Regions from separate parts of the Homo sapiens genome. Here region 2 is linked to region 1. The links are contacts of gene promoters, found by promoter capture Hi-C in blood cells and fetal thymus (Javierre and others, 2016). All regions are on one chromosome and are shown on one strand. The core of a region is centred on a gene start or on the middle of the fragment in contact, and the rest is flanking DNA. Distances in the headings are between cores, read along the strand shown. Region 1 holds the start of ATP8B4 (ATPase phospholipid transporting 8B4 (putative)). Region 2 overlaps GABPB1 (GA binding protein transcription factor subunit beta 1).

The links. Contacts are between HindIII fragments. The CHiCAGO score rates a contact against its expected background, and 5 or more counts as called.
Region 2: a fragment that was not itself captured here is called in contact with the fragment with the promoter of ATP8B4 in region 1 in 2 of 17 cell types (M2 macrophages and M1 macrophages); the score reaches 9.4 in M2 macrophages.

What each region holds. Positions count from the first base shown.
Region 1 is chr15:50,117,305-50,121,717 of GRCh38, forward strand. It overlaps ATP8B4 (ATPase phospholipid transporting 8B4 (putative)), which reads right to left and starts at 1,929. Exons shown (of 28, transcript NM_024837.4): 1 at 1,819-1,929. The HindIII fragment of the contact is 5,193 bases long and covers 1-1,932 here.
Region 2 is chr15:50,309,866-50,314,278 of GRCh38, forward strand. The region is part of intron 1 of GABPB1 (GA binding protein transcription factor subunit beta 1); the gene reads right to left. Among named protein-coding and RNA genes, the nearest start is that of GABPB1-AS1, 42 kb to the right of the region's middle. The HindIII fragment of the contact is 6,518 bases long and covers 1-4,413 here.

The DNA.
Region 1 (4,413 bases), core at 679-3,178:
CTCCCAAAGTGCTGGGATTACAGGCATGAGCCACTGCATCTGGCCAAACATACATTAAGTTTAATTTCAATGACAGCTACAATTTCCAATTTACTTTTAGATGGTTAGTTAACTCTTTTCCTACTAAATGAAAATATTCAATATGCCACATATGAAAAAAATAAAATTCTCCCACCCACAAAAAAATCCTCCAGGGGCACAAAAAAAATCATTTGTTCCCTCATTTTTAAATATTTCTGCATGATGAGACAATATAAAGGCACAATATAGGTTAAAATAAATCACTCTGTGGTTTCTCAAAAAAAGTGAAAACAGATCCACCATATGATCCAGCAATCCCACTTCTGGGAATACATCCAAAAGAAAGGAAATAAGTACCTTGAAGAGATATCTGTACTCCCCTGTTTATTGCAGCACTATTCACAATAGCCAAGATATGGAAGCAATAATATTTCTTCTTGAGGAATAAAATTTTTAAATGTGGTATTTATATACAATGGAATATTATTCAGCCATGAAAAAGAATAAAACTCTATCATTTGCAGCAACATGGATGGAACTGGAGGATATTATGTTAAGCAAAATAAGCCAGGCACAGAAAGACAAATATCACATATCCTCTGTCATATGTGGGAGCTAAAAAAGTTGATCTCATGAAGGTAGAGAGGGAGAATGGTGGTTACCAGAGGTTAGGAAGGGGAAGAGGAAGAAGGGGGTGAAGGTAGGCTGGTTAATGGGTACAAACATACAGTCAGATAGAAGGAACAGGTTCTAGTATTTGATAACACGGTAGTATGACAATAGATAATGATAATTTATTTTTTATTTATAATAAACGATATAGATATAAACGATAAAATAAACGATATAGATAATGATAATTTATTGTATCTCAAAATAGCTAGCAGATTTGGAATGTTCCCAACACAAAGAAATGGTAAATGTTTGAGGTGATATATATGCTAATTACACATCGTATGCATATACCAAAATATCACATGTACCCCATAAATATGTGCAGTTATTACATATCACATAAAAAATAAAAAATACATTTAAAAAAATCAAAACTGAAATCACTCTGAGTTTACATTTTGTAGTAAAGGCCAGCATGGAGCAACAGCTGAGTAAAAGGGGATACTTCATGGGCACAGGTGTTGGTAATCCCACAAGAAAACCTGTGTTTCCTCATTTACTTTCTAACAAGACTTCAGCTTCCAATTAATGTTTTTCACCAGTTTTCTTTTCTTCAAAACAGCTAATTGTTAACCAGGGACCTGAGACACTCTCTTGCCTATAAACAAAACAACTAGAAGGATACCTTTTTCTGTTCAGACAAATTTTAGCACTAAAAACATAACCCTCAAACCTCAGAGGGATAGCTCAGTGCAAACTGTTCATGTCTAAAGCATAAATTGACCATAAACAATATATTGAATAGGTGCACTGTATACAAACCCCGTGAAAAAAATAAAACCAACTACTACCAAAGGAAGTGACAAAGACCTACAAACCAAGAAGAAATGTACCTTTATGCTACTATCATTGGTCATTTAATAGGCATGCTAACAGAGTAAAAAATAGACATTTCAAACAACAAAAAAGAAAATGTCACATCTCCCATTTCCAACTAACTCCCCCAAATTTATTTTTTAGCAAAAGGGGAATAATAAAGAATATTTGTGAAACCTTAGTCACCAAGATGAAAACAGCAAAACAAAATAGGGATCTGGAGAAAAGAAACAGATCGTTCCAACCAGCCCACAGCTAAATTTCCACTTCATCTCACTAACCATTGAATGCTACCCATCTACTCACCTCAACCCAGACTTAATCCTCTCCCCCAAAAGGAAGATTTCTCAGCAGTGCAGGAAGATCAAACAGGTATCCATTCCGTGACCATGCCAAGGAGAAAAGCAAGGCTACTCTGAAAGCTTGAGGGATGATACAGAAAACAAACTGGGTCTCTAGGGGGCATTCTCAAAAACCTGAGATCAACTCCTGGAAAAACACTCTTGACCACTTACCACCACCGGAAGCTGCTAGATGGCAATCAGAATCAGCATCTCATCAGAAGAAGAGGAAGACCTTACAAGAAAGCAGCTTCACTGTCAGTGAGGAATTGAGGGAGAAAAGCACTCCTTGGAAAAATGCTGAAAGCCCTGAAGAGCCTCTCCTCCCCTAGTTGCCTGCTCCTGCTGACAGGACAGAACTGGTTAATCTTGGGGAAACAAAAGGAAACTCCCAAGAGGCTGGCTTCTGAGGATGGCTTCCTCTGTGGGAATCAAGAATTCAGGAGGATGAAAATGAACAATGGAAGGGGACACCGGCTACCAGGCCTACTTACCAAACTTTTACCAGCCCTTGACTGAGGAAGATAAGCAAATCTGTTTGCAGTTCCCACCTGCTTTTGCAGAGATGAAAGAATCAGCAGTGGGTTTTTGTCACTTTTTTTTTTTTTTTTTTTTTTTTTTTACAGGGGAAGTTCAGCTCTCTTATGGATGAAAGCTAAGCATACTCAAGTGACATTTAGTAGGCAAAGCAATGACACTTCTTTCCCAACATCCTTAATTTCAGCACAGAGGATGCAAACATTAACCCTGATGGTACCAAAGAACAAATGCACATAGGAAATGGATTTACATCTTTTAGTTTGGAATTGCTTTTAAGGGGATTCTGGTTGTTAAAGCGGGATTAGATGAAAATAAAATATTTTGGTGCATATCTATTTTTAAAAGGAAAAATATGGCTTCTTTTAAATATGCCTAAAGCCATCTAGGAATTTTCCAGAAGTTGCATCAGATTTGCCAGTTAAGTACTGAAATCAAATAGATTTTAATCATGTCTCTATAACCAGAGCAAGCTAATCCCCTGCGCACCATCAACTCCACTCTCCTGGAACATCCTCACGCTGGGCCCTCAGGTTTTCACAGAAACAAGGGCCTTTTCCTACCAAGGTTCCACAGTAACAAGAAACTACAGATTTCTGGAAATAAGAGAGATGGCTTTCTTTCTTACATGATAAAAGAGGACCAAGAACAGCTTAGAGCAGGAAGCAATCATCTCTTTAAAATATTTAAAATAAAAAACACTTTTAAGTGAAAAACATTTTTAAGTATCACCTCTATACCATTTTTAAACCTATCATATGGGGCAAATATAAGTTTGGTAATTCCCTTTGTTAAAGAAGATATAAGGAAATCAGGGCCTTTTCCTTTTCCTATACTGTTAGTGGGAATATAAATTGGTAAAATATTTTTTAAAGGAAACTGAGTATAGTAGTGCCTATCAAGTATTGAAATGTGTATGTGTTTTTATTTCTTAGGAATTTACCTTATAGAAAACCACACACACGTGCAAACATATCTCTAAATATGTTAATTATAGCACTATGATAGCAACAACAAAAAAACACCTAAAAATGGCTTACATATAAGAGACTGCCTAAATAAGTTAAGGTATATTGATACAAAAGAGTACTATGTAGCCATTCAAAAGAGGGTAGAATTGGAGTAAGGAATCAGGTCATCTGAGTTTAGTTCTGTCTCCACCAGTGACTGGCCAGGTGACTATGCAAGCTCCTACACTTATCTGGGCCATCTGTAAAAAGATGATCATTATAGAACTTACCTCATAGGATTGTTGCAACTAAAACAGTGCCTGGAGCAAAGTAGAGACTCAATAAATTTAGCTATTATAAATAAGAGATAGGCCTCTTCAGACTGACATAGAAAAAGATGTCCAAGATGTACTGTCAAGTGAAAAGATCAAGTTGCAGAAGAATTGTGTATAAGATAATCTCATTTTTAAAAAATATTTTAAATGTGCTCGCTGTTTATTGTCTCCCTCCCACTAAAATAAAAGCTCCTTGAGAGCAGGGACTTTTGTTTACTGTTGAACTCCTGGTGTCCATAATAAGCACTCATGAATAATGAATAATGTCGAATGAATAATGATAACAGCAAGGCTCAGCAAGAAGAATAGGTGAATTCACAGAGACAGAAAGAGTAGAGGCTACCAAGGGCTGCAGGAAGAGAGTATGGGAAGGTATTGTTTAATGGGTACAGGGTTTCAGATTGGGATGATGGAAAAGTCCTGGAGATGGATAATGGTGATAGTTATACAACACTGTGAATGTACTTAAAGCCACTGAACTGTACACTTAAAGGTAGTTAAAATGATAAATGTCATGTTATGTATACCTAGCACAACTTTTTCAAAAATTTCTACTTTTTCTTCATAAGGAGTAGAAAGACGGGGAACAGAGAAGGATGTCCATCTTATAGAGGACTATTACTAGTGTGACTGCAAACCCTTGCTAATCAGAAAACAGTTTAAATTCTCGATTTAGGATACAAGAAAAAAAAAACCTTTTATTCCCATTATACAAAGGTAGCTAAACAGAGCTTAAAC
Region 2 (4,413 bases), core at 1,914-4,413, 190 kb after region 1:
TTCCTGTCTTTATTAATAAGTCAGTTCTCAATTATCCCTTCAAAAGAGTGTGCTATGGTTAATTTAAAATTACAGATCATACAAAAGCAATTTATATTTGGATTTTAGAATCCATTTTCCTTTCTCATTAAGTTTTTACTTAGAATAAAAGTAGTTTAAATTCTCCAAATACATCTGGTAAAAGATAGAAGAGGTAAGTAGCAGAGAAAAGCTGGCCTAAATTTTTATTTATTTATTTTTTTCTTGACACAGAGTCTCGGCCTGTCACCCAGGCTGGAGTGCAGTGGCACGATGTTGGCTCACTGCAACCTCCGCCTCCTGGGTTCATGTGATTCTCCTGCCTCAGCCTCCCAAGTAGCTTGGACTACAGGCATGCACCACCACACCCAGCTAATTTTTCTATTTTCAGTAGAGACAGGGTTTCACCATGTTAGCCAGGCTGGTCTCAAACTCCTGACCTCAAATGATCTGCCCGCCTTGGCCTCCCAAAGTGATGGGATTACAGGCATGAGCCACCCCACCCAGCCAAGCTGGTCTAAAATTTAAAACTGGCAACTAATTGTTTTTACTGGAGGGTTTGCAGCAATAAAATTTTTCATAAAAGTAAATAAAGTGCAAGATATTGTCATCTGTTGTTGGTGCAAATTAAACTAAACTTAGCATAAATTTTTTTGCAATAGTAAATGTGTTCAAAATTTTAAAAAACAAATTTTCTGCCCTCCTACATGCAATGTATATTTAAGTTCTTGCAGAAAGTAAACAATTCACATTCTATGAAAATACTAAAAACAGTAATAGTATTACGAATAGACTGTCTCATTAGAGGCTAGAGGCCAGGTGCGATGGCACATCCCTGTAATCCCAGCAGTCTGGGAGGCTGAGGCAGGTGGATCCTTGAGGCCAGGAGTTCGAGACCAGCCTGGACAACATGGTGAAACCCTATCTCTACTAAAAATAAAAAATTGGCTGGGCATGGGGGCTCACACCTAGGGTCCCAGCTACTCAGGAGGCTGAGGCACAAGAATCACTTGAACCCAGGAGGCGGAGGTTGCAGTGAGCCGAGATCATGCCACTGCACTCTAGCCTGGGCAACAAAGTAAACTCTGTCTCAAAAAAAAAAAAAAAAACCAGGAAAGAATATCTTGTGCCTTGAATTTAATATATCTGAAAAGGCTAATGTCCCAGCCTGGGATGTGAGGTGTGCATGGGTGTGTATGTATTTGTGTCTTCTTGAATAAGAAATATTGAAATATATGTCAGAAAAAAGATTATGACAGTAGAATATAGGTAAATTAAGATTTGAATGTATCACAAACATTCAAATTCAAGGGATGACAGTTCTGAGAAGAAAGTTTCCAAACCCAGAAAGACTATCCAGCTGGAAGATTACTCAATTATGTCATACAGTATCCTAAGTAAGGAAAAGCAGAATTTTAGGCCCATGGGGAAGGGAATATATGGAATCCCTGAGATTTACAATGAAAAAATGTGCCTGGGGTATAAATTTATCTCAAAAAAAGTATATACTCTGAGGGTTAGGTAAGTAGTCAAGAGAAAATAAATTATAAAGAGAGTAATGGCAGGTTGATTAGTGTATCTCTACCTGGTATGAACAACTATTACAGGTTGAGTATCCCTAATCCAAAAATCTGAAATCTGAAACTTTTTAAGCATCAAAGGAAATACTCATTAGAGCATTTCAGATTTTGCATTTTTGCATTAGGGATGCTGAACCAGTAAGTATTAATGCAAATATTCCAAAATCTGAAAAAACCCAAAATCGGAAACATTATGGACCTAAGTATTTCAGATAAGGGATACTCAACTTGCACTCAATAAGGAAGAGAAAGGAGCGTATGTGTGAGAAGGAAGTTGGCAAATGGGGCTTGAAAAAGTTATTTCTGCCAGAAAGAAACAAAATGTTCTACATCATTAAAAGGGATAAGAAATCTAAAAGGGGTAATTATAAGAAAAGCTGTCCATGAAAATAAACAGAATTATGCCTATAATTTTTAGTAGATTAGCTACGATGGGAATAACCAAGCACAGAAGAGGTAACCAGGGACAGATACTAATACTTGGAGGCTTGCACAATAATTAGGTGAGATATACATATCCCAAACAGGCCTTCGTCACAAGGCAAGAAAGAATTTCTTAGAATTGTTTCATTTGTAAGGATAAAAATAATCTATATTATGGCAAGGCGCAGCAGCTTACACCTGTAATCCCACCACTCTGGGAGGCCGAGGTGGGTGAATCACTTGAGGTCAGGTGTTCGAGACCAGCCCGGCCAACAGGGTGAAACCCTGTCTCTACTAAAAATTCAATCCAGCCTGGGCAAGAGTGAGACTCCATCTCAAAAAAAAAAAATAATCTATATTATATCCTGTAGTAAAGAATAGGAAAAACAACCACATGTACTTGTGGGATTTATATGGGTTTTTTAAATACACTTCTCTGTGACACTCGCAACATTTTCATCCTTGAATTTCTGATTTCCTTTCCTTTTTTTCTCCTATTCTCTCATACCTTGATGGAGTCACTGAAAGCCAAGATACTCCTCAATCCTGCTTAAAGACGCTAAGATCTATAGAGATTACTGATCTCCAATGAGGCATTTTTTCCTAGATAATATGTAACTGCTGGACAGTAAAAATTAACATCATATTCAACAGGGAAGAAACCTGCAAAAATAATTTCCTATTAAAGGCAGGATAAAGCAAAAAGAAACCGACCTCTCTCCTACAGAAGTACGGTAAAATCTAAACTGGTCACACTAACAAATACAGCATTTATACTCTGAATGATATAAATTTGGCTTTACGATGAAATTTATCTTTCCAAAAATCTACATTTTTAAATAGGTTTTACACAGGTAATATAAAATCAGTTTGCATTCATTCAGCATACATACTGCCAAATGGTTTAGATATCTGAGTATCTTTTGTGAAGTGAGAGTTTAGGGCTTTTCCCCACCTTTTGAAACTGGGTTGTCTGTCTTTTTTTTATTGATTTGTAAGCGTTCTGACATATGTTCTGGATATGAGTCCTTTGTCAAATATAACAAGTATTATAAATATCTCTGTCCAGAACCCTGAATTTTGACTGTCTTATGTTCTTTCTTTGATAACACATAGTATTTTCTATGGGTAGATAACTGTTGAGTCTCATAAAAATGTGCAACTTCTACATATTAAAATAATCAAAATAAGAAATGGCAAAGAAATATATTTACCACAAAAATGACTAGAAGAAACATTCATGTTTTACTTATTTAAAAGGTCTGACTCAAAATGAAAAGGTGGGGGAAAAGTAAACAGCAAGGACCCAACACATCAATAGTTAAAAGACAGGACCATATGTTTTACAGAAAAGAAAATAGAAATAATTCACAAGGGCAAAAAATGCTCAGTGTCACTGTTAATCAGGTTAACATAAAGTAAATAATTTTAAAGTAATTCCTGATGCAGCCAAGAATTAAGTGAAACTGATGCTTTGATATATTGACAACTCAGATATGCTGATAGTAATATAAGTGGATCAGCTTTATTTTTTAGTCAACTGGGCAAATTTAACAAGTTACAAAAATATCCAAGTCCATTGACCCAATAAGTGATCCCACTTCTAAGAATCTATTCTAAAGGAAAAATATATTGAAACAGATTTATCAGTAAAGATTATATATGCATACACATATATATTATATATAACTCTTCTAATGTGACCAATCTAAAGGTAAGAAAATGATTGAATTGTAGAATCTAAAGGAAAAAAATGCAGTAATTTAACCTAATAGTTTTGAAGCTATATAAACAACAAAAAATTTATGCCACATTATGAAAAGATATAAATCTTTTTAACGTCAAAATATGCATATAAAGTATAAAATACTGAAAAATATTAACAATTGTTTAGGATGGTATGATTATGGGAAATTTTGTCATTTTACAAAGTTTCTAATGTTACTATATTACCTAATTTAAAAAATTTTTTTTCAAAGGGACAAATTACATTGTATGACTGTCAACTAAGCAAATGATAACATTAAGGAAAGTTTTATGTTCCTGACTTACTAGAGAGGATGAGCGGAAAAAACAAAGAAAATGTATAATGTTGGGAACTTAAAATATCAATCATAGATCTGCTTACATGAATTATAATAAAATCATGAAGCATTTGAACAAATCGACTTTTACCATAATTATTCAATTGTCTTAATTATTCAAAACATATCACAGTTTAGGACCTAATATACTTAAGTTACTCTGGTTTTAAAATTCCATGAGCAATACAGCCATACGGTAGATTTATTTATTTATTTATTTATTTATTTTTTGAGACGGAGTCTCGCTCTGTTGCCCAGGCTGGAGTGCAGTGGCGTGATCTCGGCTCACTGCAAGCTCCACCTCCCAG